Regions from separate parts of the Homo sapiens genome. Here all the other regions are linked to region 1. The links are contacts of gene promoters, found by promoter capture Hi-C in blood cells and fetal thymus (Javierre and others, 2016). All regions are on one chromosome and are shown on one strand. Each heading gives the region's core, a stretch centred on a gene start or on the middle of the fragment in contact. The rest is flanking DNA. Distances are from core to core; before and after follow the strand shown.

What was found. The method cuts DNA at HindIII sites, captures the fragments that hold promoters and counts their contacts. A CHiCAGO score of 5 or more calls a contact.
Region 2: the fragment with the promoter of NUDT8 here is called in contact with a fragment that was not itself captured in region 1 in 6 of 17 cell types (naive CD4 T cells, total CD8 T cells, naive B cells and 3 more); the score reaches 6.4 in naive CD4 T cells.
Region 3: the fragment with the promoter of ACY3 here is called in contact with a fragment that was not itself captured in region 1 in 1 of 17 cell types (naive CD8 T cells); the score reaches 5.8 in naive CD8 T cells.

What each region holds. Positions count from the first base shown.
Region 1 is chr11:67,347,151-67,351,937 of GRCh38, reverse strand. POLD4 (DNA polymerase delta 4, accessory subunit) reads left to right here. Exons shown (of 4, transcript NM_021173.5): 4 at 1-1,166. All of the region lies in intron 2 of LOC100130987 (a long non-coding RNA gene), which reads right to left. Among named protein-coding and RNA genes, the nearest start is that of POLD4, 4.0 kb to the left of the region's middle. RefSeq lists a silencer at 3,633-3,772. The HindIII fragment of the contact is 211 bases long and covers 2,206-2,416 here.
Region 2 is chr11:67,626,453-67,631,196 of GRCh38, reverse strand. It overlaps NUDT8 (nudix hydrolase 8), which reads left to right and starts at 1,260. Exons shown (of 4, transcript NM_001243750.2): 1 at 1,260-1,479; 2 at 2,146-2,278; 3 at 2,797-2,874; 4 at 2,946-3,259. The coding sequence starts at 1,286. The coding sequence ends at 3,251. LOC124902696 (a long non-coding RNA gene) reads right to left here. Exons shown (of 2, transcript XR_007062741.1): 2 at 3,804-4,744. RefSeq lists silencers at 338-507, 628-1,417, 1,708-1,857, 2,425-2,719. The HindIII fragment of the contact is 2,776 bases long and covers 1-2,545 here.
Region 3 is chr11:67,649,480-67,654,046 of GRCh38, reverse strand. It overlaps ACY3 (aminoacylase 3), which reads left to right and starts at 3,317. Exons shown (of 8, transcript NM_080658.2): 1 at 3,317-3,464. RefSeq lists enhancers at 3,036-3,095, 3,166-3,245. The HindIII fragment of the contact is 12,167 bases long and covers 1-3,949 here.

The DNA.
Region 1 (4,787 bases), core at 1,062-3,561:
GACAGAAGCGAGAGCCCATTGCTCCTGCTCAGCTCAGCCCGGCTGCGGAGGAACCCTTGGCAGGCAGAACCTGGAGGTGTCAGAGGCTCAACTCCTCCATCTAACCAGCAGGCTCCCAGAGTCCCCGGAAGAGCCTGCGCAGCTGAAGCAGAGTGCTTCTAGATGGAGAGTGGTCACTGGGGAAAAGGACCTGGCCATCACCTTCCAATACCTGCTGCCTGTCTCCCTGACCCATGATCTGGCAAGTTAGGCACAGTCAGACATGGACAGTTGATCCATGAGGAAAAGATGCTCTCCCACCTAAGGCCAGGAATCTGAGAGCAGGACTGGCTGAGCTCCCAGGGCAAGGGGTTCACTAATGCTTATCAATAAAGAATATTGAGCCTGGAATCCTGACCTTCAGTCCTTTACTGTGGCCCTGCTTTGACTGGCAGTCCCTAGCAAGTTAGGAGATGAGAGAGGCACCACTACAGCTCTTTTCCTTCAAGAAAGTCCTAGGCCGAAGAGGGAGGAGACAGTCATCTTGAGACGGATCAAGTCCTCGGAAGAGCTGAGCGACCTCTGGTGCCCCCTGGTGGCCCACAGGGAAACTACTCATGACTCACCTTCTGGAGCAGCCAGGGAAAACCTACCTGACTAGCCAGCCACCTGCCTTGCTAAGCGGTGCCCACCTCACAAACATGGGTGCTTTGCCAGAGAAGGACCCCTGGGGTCCATAGCTCATGAAGTCCAAACATATCTATACATTCCCAGCAAGCACCTCTGGCTTCCCACATCGGGGGCCACCTTGATCCAAAGCAGGGCTGGCGAGGGTCTCAACTTGCAGGACCTGCTCAGACATGACCATCATCTGAGGGGCTTTGGTAAGAAACTGATGGCTGGGCGCGGTGGCTCACACCTGTAATCCCAGCACTTTGGGAGGCCAAGGAGGGCGGATCACGAGGTCAAGAGATCGAGACCATCCTGGCTAACATGGTGAAACCCCATCTCTACTAAAAATACAAAAAATTAGCCAGGTGTAGTCCCAGCTACTCAGGAGGCTGAGGCAGGAGAATGGCGTGAACCCGGGAGGCAGAGCTGGCAGTGAGCTGAGACCGCATCACTGCACTCCAGCCTGGGTGACAGAGAGAGACCCCGTCTCAAAAAATAAAAAAATACAAAATAAAGGCTGGGCGCAGTGGCTCACGCCCGTAATCCCAGCACTTTGGGAGGCCGAGGGAGGTGGATCAGGAGGTCAGGAGATCGAGACCATCCTGGCTAACATAGTGAAACCCCGTCTCTACTAAAAATACAAAAAAACTTAGCCAGGCCTGGTGGCGGGCACCTGTAGTCCCAGCTACTTGGGAGGCTGAGGCAGGAGAATGGCGTGAACCCGGGAGGCGGAGCTTGCAGTGAGCCGAGATCGCGCCACTGCACTCCAGCCTGGGCGACTGAGCAAGACTCCATCTCAAAAAAAAAAAAAAAAAAAAGAAAGAAAAAAGAAACTGATGGTGCTGGGGGATGGAGGAGAACTGGCTGGAGCCAGAAACAATGCCCAGGGGACCCAGGGTCAGGGTATGACATGGAGAATAGAGTCAGTAACCGCTTCTATAGTGTTACCTTCATCTACTGTGGCAGCCCTCTATCCTGGGGGTAGATGGAGGCAGCACTAGTAAGTTCTTGGAAACAGGCCTAGAGGGCAGCTAAGTGGCCTGTGTAGCCCCCGTCTGAGCACTGATCATGTCTCAGGTACTTTAAATGTATTACCTCGAATCCTCCTAAAAAACCTTCCAGGTAGGTTTTACTGAGGGGGAACTGAAACTAAGAAAGGTTAAGTAAAGTTGCCCAAAAGCACACAGCAGGCAAGAGGCAGTGCAGTGACCAGGGGCCACTTGCATTAACCTCTTCCAGACTATGCCATACCTCCTGCCCAGCTGCTAAGCACTCACTATGTGCCAGGCACCAAAGGTCCCCTTGGGGTATTACTAATGGTCAGGAGATGGGCAAAAACAAACACGTAAGTTAATTATGACAGGTAGCAGTCAGTAGTAAGCAAAATCAGAGTTGGGATCAGAAAGGGTCCAAGGATGCCAGGGGCGCTATGTTAGAGAGACTGGTCAGGGAAGGCCCTCTGCTAAGGTGGCATTTGAGCAGAGACTTGAAGGAAGGAAGGGAGCAAGGTCTGCATCTGAGGGTTCCAGGCAGAAGGAGCAACAAGGAGAAGCTTCCTGAGGAAGGAGTGTTTCCAGCCTGCTCCAGGAAAGGCACTGAGGAGGCCAGTGAGGCTGGGGGCCAGGGAGTGAGGAAGGGTAGTGGGAATTGAGGGCAGACAGGCAGCGGGCTGGTCCCTAGGGCCATGATAAGAAACTGGATTTGATTCTGAGTGAGAGGGGAGGATACTGGAGGGCTTGAAGCCAATAAATGACAGAGTCAAGCTTATGTTTCGAAAACATTACTCTGTTGGTGGAAAACAAGATTGTGGAGCTGGGGAAAACAGAGGTAGCAAAACCACTCAGGAGGCTACTGAAGTTGGCCTCATGAGAGCTGAGGGTGATCTGGACCAGCGTGGGGAGGTGGACTGCTCAGAAGTGGCCAGGTACGCTCTGTATTTTTAAGGAAGAGCTGACTGGCAGGACTTGCCTATTGGTCGACTGTGGGATTTAAGAGGGAGGAGCCAAGGATAACTCCAAAGGTTTTGGTTTGGGCGACTGGAAGGACAGAGTTCTCATTACTAAGATGGGAAGACTTGTGGGAAGGGTGGGGCAGGAATCTGGAGCTCCATCTTAGACATGCTGAAGTATCTGTGCCACTTCCAAAGGGACATGGGGTATAGGCAGTGGATATGTAAGTCTCGGATTCTGAGGCATTCTAGGTTTAAAATATAAACTTGGGAATCTTTTAGATGGCCTTGAAAGCTCCAACAGTGGATGAGATCCCCAGAGTGAGTGTAGAGAGAGAAGTGATCTGAGAGATCCAGTAGCGAGGGAACCTGAGGTTACCGGAGATGAGGAGGCAGTTGTGTGAGTGAGATCTTTGTGAGGGTGAGGAGGGCCAGGAACCAGGATACAGGAAGAGGGTGGCCTTCAGTAGACACATGCACTGTGACAGGAAGGGAGGCAGAGAATATGAGAGGAGCCTCAGGTAGGGGGATATATTTGGGGATGGGAATATTCAAGAATCAGATATTTACTAAGAGCCTGACACTGCTGGGAGGGCTCTGATGTTTACTAAGTGCCTATCCATGCCATCTGCTATGTGAAATGCTGCACACATGTTATCTAGTTGAATCCTGAGAACAATCTCATTAGGGAAGTACTATCCATGTTTTACAGATAAGGAAACCAAGGCTGAGAGGAAAAGTGCCTTGCTCAATCAGTAAACACCAGGGCCTGAATTCACCCCGCACCTGCACTCCAGATGTTGGAGGATAAGAATGTTGTCGAGGAGATAAGGACTACATATGTGGCAAGTTAGAAAACCATGTAATATGAGTGCTTTCCCGAGGCAACCTAGGAGTGGCACAGACACTGAATTGTCTGAGTTCTCAGAAAGGAAAGAGCACCATGGGTGACAGGGACCCGCTGCAGGGGCCTCGAGCACAGGGACTGCAACCTTCCTCCCGCTGCATTGTATTCCCCCTGCTGCACCTCATCTGCACCTAGCCCCTTCTAATCAGGGGTCCCTGTTTCTCACCTTCCCACCTTCCACCGCAGGGCGAATGCAGACTCCCCACTGTAGGGGACAGCACCATGCGGAATGTTCTTAGTCATTTCCTTCATCAATTTTGCATTCTACTCCATATGTCTGGAGTAGTTGTACTTCTTTTTTGACACAGAGTCTCACTCTGTCACTCAGGCTGAAATGCAGTGGGATGATCTTGGCTCACTGCAACCTCTGCCTCCAGGGTTCAAGCAATTCTCGTGCCTCAGTCTCCCAAGTAGCTGGGATTAGAGGTACCCACCACCATTCCCGGCTAATTTTTGTATTTTTGGTAGAGACGGGGTTTTACCATGTTGGCCAGGCTGCTCTTGAACTCCTGACCTTAAGTGATTCACTCGCCTCAGACTCCCAAAATGCTGGGATTACAGGCATGAGACACTGTGCCCGGCCTGGAGTAGCTGTATTAACATAAAAGTAGGTGAAATTATTTATAATTAAATAAAATGAAGTCTCCAGGAAGATGTGCCACATGTGGCTTATGGCTGCTTTCAGGTACCCCTGATACATCTACTATACCACCTCACTCAGTTTGAACAGCACTTCAGAAATACTAAAAAGCATATATATATATATATATATATATATATATATATATATATATATATTTTTTTTTTTTTTTTTTTTTTTTTTTTGAGAAAGGGTCTTGCTCTGTTGCCCAAGCTGGAGCACAGTGGTGCAATCATGGCTCACTGCAGCCTCAAACTCCCAGGTTCAAGCCATCTTCCTGCCTTGGTCTCCCAAGTAACTGGGACTATAGGCACGTGTCATACACAGCTAATTAAAAAAAAATTTTTTTTTTTTTTTAGAGAGATAGTCCTGCTATGTTGCCCAGGCTGGTCTCAAACACCTGAGGCCAAATAATCCTCCTGCCTTGGCCTCCTAAAGTATTGGGATTACAGGAGTGAACTGCCACACCCAGCCAGAGAATAGTGTTCTAGACTAAGGGAATGAGCTGAACAAAGGCAAGCAGGAGGGAATTATGTGTGTGCCACAGGCTAGGTGCACAGAGCTGTGAAGTATATACCACAGAGGTTTCCACATAAAATCATAAAAAACTAGCATTTGGCTGGGAGCGGTGGCTCATGCCT
Region 2 (4,744 bases), core at 11-2,510, 280 kb before region 1:
CCCAGTGCCGTCCGCATCCCTGGGAGCACACAGTAATATTAAAAGTGGTGACTCCAGCCCAGTGGCAGGGCTGCACTTGCCCAGATGAGGATCGAAACTGGCGCTCAGAGAGGCGCGGGACCTGCTCAACGTCACACAGCAGAGCATGGCGGACACCCGCCACCCCACGTTTAAATGCTGTGCGCAAGGCTGGGGTCATCTGGTCCCCAAGCCCAGGGTCTGGTGGAAGGGCGCAGAACCACGGTGGTCAGTGACCACAGGGGCCGAGGTAGGAAAGGGGGAGGGATTTGGGAATCCGGTCAAGACTCAAGGCAGGAAGGGAGAAGAGCTCTGGACGCTGGGACAAGGAGGTCAAAGGCCTGGGGCTGGAGTCCGACGGAGCCAGAGGGGAAGACAAGACTGGGGGCGGCGCGCGCCACCCAGCGGTATCGGGAGGGAGGACCGGAGGGAGGGCTGGGCCGGACGCTCCTCTCGCGCACCGATCGACCTCGGGTTCCTGGAGGGGCGTCCCCGTGGGATCCCGGCTCCGTACATCCTGGAGCCCCTAGGGGAGGGACGGACCAGTGGGGGCCGGCGGGGCCTCATCAGACACCCCAACGCCAGGACCCAACGGGACCGAGGACGGTCGCCGGGCGCTTCACGGTTCGCGTGGTTTCAGGATCTCGGAGAACACAACCGGCAGGTCCTGCAGCTCCGCGCCCATCTCCCTCCCCGCGGCCACACCCCCGGCCACGGCCCGGCCCTGCCGGAAGCACAGTCCTCCTGGCCACGCCCCCCAGTCCTTCGTAGCAAAAGCTCCGGTCCAGGCCCCGCCCCCAGCCCGCCCCAACCTCGATTGCCTACTAGGCCCCGCCGCCCTTTGGCAGTAACGTCCGAGTCCGGCTCCCGCGCAGGCCCCGCCCCGCCCCGCCCCGCCGCCCTCCGTCCCTCCCATCCGGGGGACTCAACGCGTCCCACCGAGGCCCCGCCTTCAAACAGGCCCCGCCCCCTAACGGACCCCGTCCCACCGAGGACCCGCCTTCAAACAGGCCCCGCCCCCGAACAGACCCAGTCCCACCGAGGCCCCGTCTCCGGGAAGGCCCCGCCCACGAACAGACCCACCCCACTGAGGCCCCCCGACGCCGCTGCCGCTCTGCAGCCCCCCAGGCGGGACGCGTCGCGCGGGCTGCCCCTTCTCCCTCTCAGCTTTCGGAGGGACCCGGGCTGAGCGCCCCGCCCCGCCTCGCCCCGCCTCTTCCCTCGCCCGATCCCGCGCCCTCAGTGTCCCGGCCGCGCAGGACTTGACATGCTGCCCGACTGCCTGTCGGCCGAGGGCGAGCTGCGCTGCCGCCGGCTGCTGGCAGGGGCCACGGCCCGGCTCCGCGCGCGGCCCGCGTCGGCCGCGGTGCTCGTGCCGCTCTGCTCAGTGCGTGGGGTCCCGGCGCTGCTGTACACGCTGCGGTCCAGCCGCCTGACCGGGAGGCACAAGGGCGACGTCAGGTACAGCGGCCGGGAACTCCTCGCCCTTTGCCGGAGGCTACAGGAGCCCGGGGCTGGCAGGGACCTCTGGCAGGGCACTTAGCCCCTTCGAGCCTCGGTTTCCGCCTCCGTAAAATGGGTCTGGGGAGAGTCCCTCCGCCCAAGGGCTGCAGCGAGAGGTCAGCGATCCGTGTCCGTCGGCCCCGGTGCACCTGCCGGGGCGCCACGTCCTCGCCGCGTGGGCCCCTCGTACGCGTCCTTGCGCGCACGCCTGGGCCGGGACACCCCTTTGAGCTGTTTCCCGCTTAGAGGGCGGACGCCGCCCCCTGCCGGCGACTACGGAGAGGTTCGGGCCCCGCCCGGCGGGAATTAAGAACATCCTGAGGACAATGTCAGTGTTGCTGGGGCCACCATAGGCCGAATTTGGGTATCTGAGCCCCAGGATCTTCTTGCCCCTGCTGCAGACCCTCTTATCCTGCGCTGTCCCGGGCCTCTCTTCCTTATCCCCATTGCTCAGGGAGGTAAACTGGCCTCCAGAGGTCGCATGGCTTGCCTGGGGCCTCCCAGTAAACTAGGGGCAGAGGCAGGCGACACTTCGGTGGGCCAGTGGCCCCCCCCGCACTGCCGATACCCCGACCTCTCCGTGGCCCCAAGAGTCCAAGGACCAGACTCCTTGTGTCTGTTTAGTTTCCCAGGCGGCAAGTGCGACCCGGCTGACCAAGATGTGGTGCACACGGCCCTGCGGGAAACCCGGGAGGAGCTGGGCCTGGCAGTGCCCGAGGAGCACGTGTGGGGCCTGCTGCGGCCTGTGTATGATCCGGTAAGCCACTTGGCTGAGGCCACCCCACCCCATTCACTCACTCTGTGCCTGCCCTGGAGCTGGGCTACCAGGGACCAGGAGAGTGGTCATGGACCCCCACGGGCACAAAGTGTGGAAGGGTGCCCCTAACCTGCCTGGTCACATGCACCACCCCACACACCCCCTCGGGAAGGGATTGGGGAGGCTCTGGTGTCCTGAGTAGAGGTGGCCCAGGGCGATGGGGTGGGCCAGCTCCACTCAGTTTGGTGGATTAGGGTCAGGGAAGCTTCATGGGGTAGGCAGGGATTGAACCCAGGCTTGAATGCCAAGTGGGAGATTGTCCTAAGCAGAGGGAACAGGTCTAGTGCATTTGAGGGGACCTGAGTCAGTCAGCATGGCTGGAGGACACAGGCAGGTGGACCCGAACATGACTACCAAAGGCCTATGCATGGCAAAGGGGTCTTCCTCTCACACTCCCCTCCCCAGCCTTCAAACCCAGCGAAGGCCATGCTTCCCTGACCACCTGCCCTCTTCCCCAGCAAAAGGCCACCGTGGTGCCAGTGCTTGCTGGTGTAGGCCCACTGGATCCCCAGAGCCTCAGGCCCAACTCGGAGGAGGTGAGCTGGGGGATATGAGGGGGTTGGGCTGTTCCAGTCCTCTGTCTACCCTCTCTGCCTCCTGCCTGCAGGTAGATGAGGTGTTTGCACTGCCGCTGGCCCACCTGCTGCAGACGCAGAATCAGGGCTATACCCACTTCTGCCGGGGTGGCCACTTCCGCTACACACTACCCGTCTTCCTGCATGGACCACACCGGGTCTGGGGCCTCACAGCTGTCATCACTGAGTTTGCCCTGCAGCTGCTGGCACCTGGTACCTACCAGCCCCGCCTGGCCGGCCTGACCTGCTCAGGGGCTGAGGGTCTGGCCCGCCCTAAGCAGCCCCTGGCTTCACCCTGTCAGGCCAGCTCCACTCCAGGACTGAATAAAGGTCTTTGACAGCTCTAGAGCTCTTGCTTCTGCTGTACTGGGGCCTTGACCTTGGGCAGACCACTCCAGGTCGCTGGCTGGGGCTCCTCCTTCCAGTCACGCCATGCCCCACAGCAATGGACACTTCCTGGGTGCCAAGTACTTGGAGTCAATTCATCTCACCCTCACAACAGCCCATAAGGCAGGGCCAACACTGTCTCTGGCTGGTGAGACTGCTTTCAGGGAGGAGAGACACCTTGCCTAAGGGCCCCACGCTGGGATTGGAACCAGAGCTCTCAGACTCCACAGCCCAGACTCTTAGGCACTGCACTGCCCTGTCTCAGCCTGCACCTCCTGTTCTCTCTGCTGTGCCTGGCTGACGCTGTGCTGGGCTCCGGGATCCCAGAGAGGAGTAAGGCGCACCCATGCCCCTGGGTGTTACTGCAGGAGTCTAACATGCAGAGCCCCTGTGTGTGCCAGCTGCTGTGTGGGGGCCACAGCTGTGGACCGGTCAGATGCTCACCTGCCGTCCAGAGGGGGTGCTCAGTCTAGGGGAGACCTCAGACCAGGTCACACAGATAATCATGTGGTTCCACATTAATTAATCACAGATAATAGTGGAATTATATAAGACATCAACTAGGTAGACCAGGGTTCTGTGAAAGAGCTGAGGGAGCGGGTGGTCTGAGCTTGCCGTGGAGGATGGCTGGATCCAGGGGCTCGGGCTCCCCTCTTGCTGTGCTTTGCGCTGTGCTGGCCTCAGCCCCAAGGAGGTTGTCTGTAGTGCAGAGCGTGAGAGGTTGAGGAGAGGGCAGCAGCATCCATCAACAGAAAACACGGCCGCTCCTTCCCGGCCAGTCTAACCTAGAATTGCACTTCACTGGCCTGCCTTGAGTCACATGTCCTTCCCTGAGCCTGTCACATGGCCGGTTGTGTGTCCGGAATTGGTGGGTTCTTGGTCTCACTGACTTCAAGAATGAAGCCATGGACCCTCACAGTGAGTGTTACAGCTCTTAAGGTGGTGCGTCTGGAGTTTGTTTCTTCTGATGTTCGGATGTGTTTGGAGTTTCTTCCTTCTGGTGAGTTCGTGGTCTCGCTGGCTCAGGAGTGAAGCTACAGACCTTTGTGGTGAGTGTTACAGCTCATAAAAGCAGTGTGGACCCAAAGAGTGAGCAGTAGCAAGATGTATTGCAAAGAGCGAAAGAACAAAGCTTCCACAGTGTGGAAGGGGACCTGAGCGGGTTGCCACTGCTGGCTCGGGCAGCCTGCTTTTATTCTCTTATCTGGCCCCACCCACATCCTGCTGATTGGTAGAGCCGAGTGGTTTGACAGGGCACTGATTGGTGCGTTTACAATCCCTGAGCTAGACACAAAGGTTCTCCACATCCCCACCAGGTTAGTTAGATACAGAGTGTTGACACAAAGGTTCTCCAAGGCCCCACCAGAGTAGCTAGATACAGAGTGTCCATTGGTGCATTCACAAACCCTGAGCTAGACACAGGGTGCTGATTGGTGTATTTACA
Region 3 (4,567 bases), core at 2,068-4,567, 300 kb before region 1:
CTCCCAAAGTGCTGGGATTACGGACATGAGCCACCACGCCTGGCCGCAGTGAACTGTTTCTTGTGTACTGGCTGGTTGTAGCCAAGAGACTCGATGGCTTCTTGTCTTGTGTTGCCTTTTTGTTTTTTGTTTTTTGTTTTTTTTTTGCCCTTCCTGGACCTGGCCACAGTTGCTCAATACCTTAAGGGTAATCTCAACCAATGGAGATGTCAGCATCCCCAGTGTCCCTTCTGCTTTTTGTAGTTTATCCGCATGGCTTCTGCCACTGGAGTCCTGCTACAATTACTGTTTTCCCATATTACCCACCCAGCAGCTTAGAGGCGGGATTGGTGGTGACACAGATCCCACAACTCTTGGCCCACACTCAACTAGTTTTAAAAATATATTGGTGGGGAGGGGCGGGCATGGTGGCTCATGCCTATAATCACCACGCTTTGGGAGGCCGAGGTGGGTGGATCACTTGAGCTTAGGAGTTCGAGACCAACCTAGGTAAGATGGTGAAACCCTGTCTCTATAATATTAGGTTGGTTCAAAAGTAACCGCTGTTTTTGCCATTGAAAGTAATGGCAAAAACTGCAATTACTTTTGTACCAATCTAATTTTTTAAAAATTAATTAATTAAAAAAAATTGGAAGGCATAGATTTCACTCGGCAAGGCAGGAAATCTTGTAACTGCTCTATACTGTGGCTCTGCCGACCGCCCGGCACTGCTCCAGCAGATGCAAACTGCCCGAGATTTTGATGAATTCACTGAAGGAAATAAAGACATTGTGTTTAAAAACACAGCAGAAAGGTTGGGTGTGGTGGCTTATGCCTGTAATCTCAGCACTTTAGGAGGCTGAAGGGGGTGGATCACTTGAGCTCAGGAGTTTGAGACCAGACTGGACAACATAGCAAGACCCCATCTCAAAAAAAAAATTAGCTGGGTGCGTGCCTGTAGTTTCAGCTACTTGGGAGGCTGAGATGGGAGGACTGCTTGAACCTGGAAGTTGGAGGTTGCAGTGAGCCACAGTCGAGCCACTGCACTCCAGCCTGGGTGACAGAGCCGGACCTTGTCTCAAAATTAAAAAAAAAAAAAACCCACTGCAGAAGACCTTCAGAATTGCTTGCCTCTAGAAACCATGCTTTCCTCAGAACATCTAACCCTTCAAAAACTACAGCAGCAGCCAGAACCCACCATTCACGCTGACGCATTCCTTTGTGATAAAGACTTCATTGATTCATTATGTGACAAAGGGAAAATGAGCAGAAACTACTGGGTGGTTCACACCAAACAGAACCTTTAGACCGATTGCTCGTTCCTTCTCCCTCATGGAATTGAAGTTCATTTATCTTCATGCACTCCCTGATCAATCAGGAAAGGCTGTGGCTGACGTCAGCTCCAGGCTCAGCACAGTCTTTATGGGGTGATCTTATAGCTTAGCAGTGCAACCCTGTGGAGTAGAACTGAACGGAGACTTTTGCCAGTTGCAGGAAATGGTCATTAAAAAATACCAGTTTATTCACAGAATAAAGGTGCTTCATGCAGACATCTGTCCCCAGGGTTTCTTCTGCAAAATGCTGATGCTGCTATCATGAATAATGTCTTCAAATATTCTCTTAATGAGGCAGAACAAGCCGGAGCTGGGAATACATTTGTCATAATGTAAGGAAGCAGATCATCATCAGTGACAGTGCCAAGTCTTGAAGATTCTCTCCTGGGTCTTCAGACTAATACACATTTATCTCCCTGGGTTGAAGAAGTACTGTGGGACTATGATGTATACCCACAAAAGGATATTGACAAAGAAGCTCTTTATTTATTTATTTATTTATTTATTTATTTATTTATTTATTTATTTTCTTTTGAGACAAGGTCTCACTGTGTTGTCTAGCCTGGAATGCAGCCATACGATAACGGCTCACTGTACTCACGGTACGATTACCTCCAACTCCCCGTGCTCAAGTGATTCTCCCGCCTCAGCCTCCTGAGTAGCTGGGGCCACAGCTGTGTGTGCCACCACCTGGCTAATTTTTTTTTTTTTTTTTTTTTGAGACAGAGTTTCGCTCTTGTCGCCCAGGCTGTAGTGCAATGGCATGATCTCGGCTCACTGCAACCTCTGCCTCATGCCTCAGCCTCCCAAGTAGCTGGGATTACAGGCACCCACCACCATGCCTGGATAAATTTTGTATTTTTAGTACAGACGGGGTTTTGCCATGTTGCCCAGGCTGGTCTTACACTCCTGACATCAGGTGATCCACTCGCCTCAGCCTCCCAAAGTGCTGGGATTATAGGTGTGAGCCACCGCGCCCACCCTAATTTTTTTTTTTTTTTTGGTAGAGACAGGGTCTCCCTATGTTGCCCAGGCTGGTCTTGAACACCTAGGCTCAAGCAATCTGCCCCCCTTGGCCTCCCAAAGTGTTGGGGTTACAGGTGTGAGCCACTGCACCCAGCTGACAAAGAAGCTCTTGAACAAATTCATTTAATGAGATTCTCTAGCACTAAAATAGTCCTACCTCATTGTAATGTTTTGTAGAGTATCTTATAAAACAATGAAAAAAAACCAGTATTTTAATACATATTTTTCTGTATATTTCCTTCTAGCCTTTGTACATATGATCACATATTTGTAAAAAGTTGTATGTATATATATACAACTTTACCCGCTTTGTGTGATGATATGACAAAAACATTTATCTGAAAAAAGTATTTTTTTCATCAAATGGCAGAGCTCCTGTTTCTGGTAACCCGGGGTATGGCAAGTAGGGGCTCTGGGAGATGGAGCAGCTCAGCCTCCTGTGAAAAATTCTGTTTCTCTAAAAAAGAACAAATTCTCATGCTGGGCGCGGTGGCTCACGCCTGTAATCTCAGCACTTTGGGAGGCCGAGGCGGGCGGATCACGAGGTCAAGAGATCGAGACCATCCTGGCTAACACGGTGAAACCCCGTCTCTACTAAAAATGCAAAAAATTAGCCGGGCGTGGTGGCGGGCGCCTGTGGTCCCAGCTACTCAGGAAGCTGAGGCAGGAGAATGGCGTGAACCCGGGAGGTGGAGCTTGCAGTGAGCCGAGATCGCGCCACTGCACCCCAGCTTGGGTGACAGAGCCAGACTCTGTCTCAAAAAAAAAAAAACGAATTCCCAAAACTAGTCCCACTGTTGTCTACCCAGATCCGGGATCCGGGTTGCCCTTGGCCTGGCCAGAGATGCCTCTCAATCCCCCACGGCACGTAGAGCCAGACAGAAACCGAAAGCAGAGGTGCCCTGCGCTGAAGTCTAGAGATCCCACTGCTAGGTCCAAAGAATTTACCCTTTCAGTCAACCCACGGGGCAAAGTCCACTTTCTTCCCTGAAGGAGCAGCACAGAACAAAAGCTCCAGGCAGCTGCTTCCGCTGTTTCGGGGGTAGGGCGGAGTGACAGCCCCACGGGCCACGCAGCAAGCAGAAGATCCCCGGGAGTCACCCTCAACCCTCTGGGGCCACGTGGGTGAGTTCGCCCGGGGAAGGTGCCGCGGCCCACTGCTTTACCTTAGTGAGCCTCAAGAAGTTAGGATCAGAATCCCAGTCGGCCCCATCTGGGTCGCCAGAGTTTTGTTACCCACACAACGGGTGGGCTCAGTTGCTTGGCGGGTGTTAACTAAAGAGGATTTAATAGGGGATTTTATTTCTTGCAACAAGTAAGGAGAACACCTAGACAGCTCCCAAAGCAGTGTCTCCCCGAGCTGAGGGCTGGGGCAGGTTTTATAAGCATAGGGTAATGAGGCGTGATCTGATTGCATCTTGCAATGAGGTGATGCTGGGAGGCATGATCTAATTGGATGCTGACACAGGGGGGAACCACAGCTCTGACCCCTCTCTGGGTCTCAGTTTCCCCAACTGCAGTGAGGAAATTGGCCCCCGTGATGATGCCCATGACATCACCATCCTCTGCCCTCACTCATGCTGGGGTCTCCATGTGCCCATTTTCAAGCTTGTGCCCGCCCTTTGTTCCTCACTCCCCACAGCTGCCCTTGGCCAGGACTTTCACAGGGTGGAGCCAAGGCCCAGAGAGGGCACTGAATCTCTCCAGGTCACACAGCCTGTCAGGGAGGTGGGGCCAGAGCCAGGTCACACGTGTGCACACAACACACACACACGCACACATGCTCACGCACATGCACGCACACACGCTCTCAAGCACATGCACACATGCACACACATGCACACACACTCTCATGCACACACGCACACATGTACACACACATGCATGCACACATGCACACAATACTCTCATGCACATGCACACACGTACACACGCACACATGCATGCTGTCACACATGCGCACACACGCACACATGCTCTCATGCACACACGCACACATGTACACATACATGCACACATGCACACAATACTCATGCACATGCACACACATGTACACACGCACGCACACACGCATGCTGTCACGTACACATGTGAGTGCACACACGCACACACATGCTCTCATGCACACGCACACATGTACAGATGCACACATGCATGCACACACATGCACACACGCGCACACACTGCCAGGACTGGGGGCTGCTGTTTCTGAGGGTTCCTGGACCCCG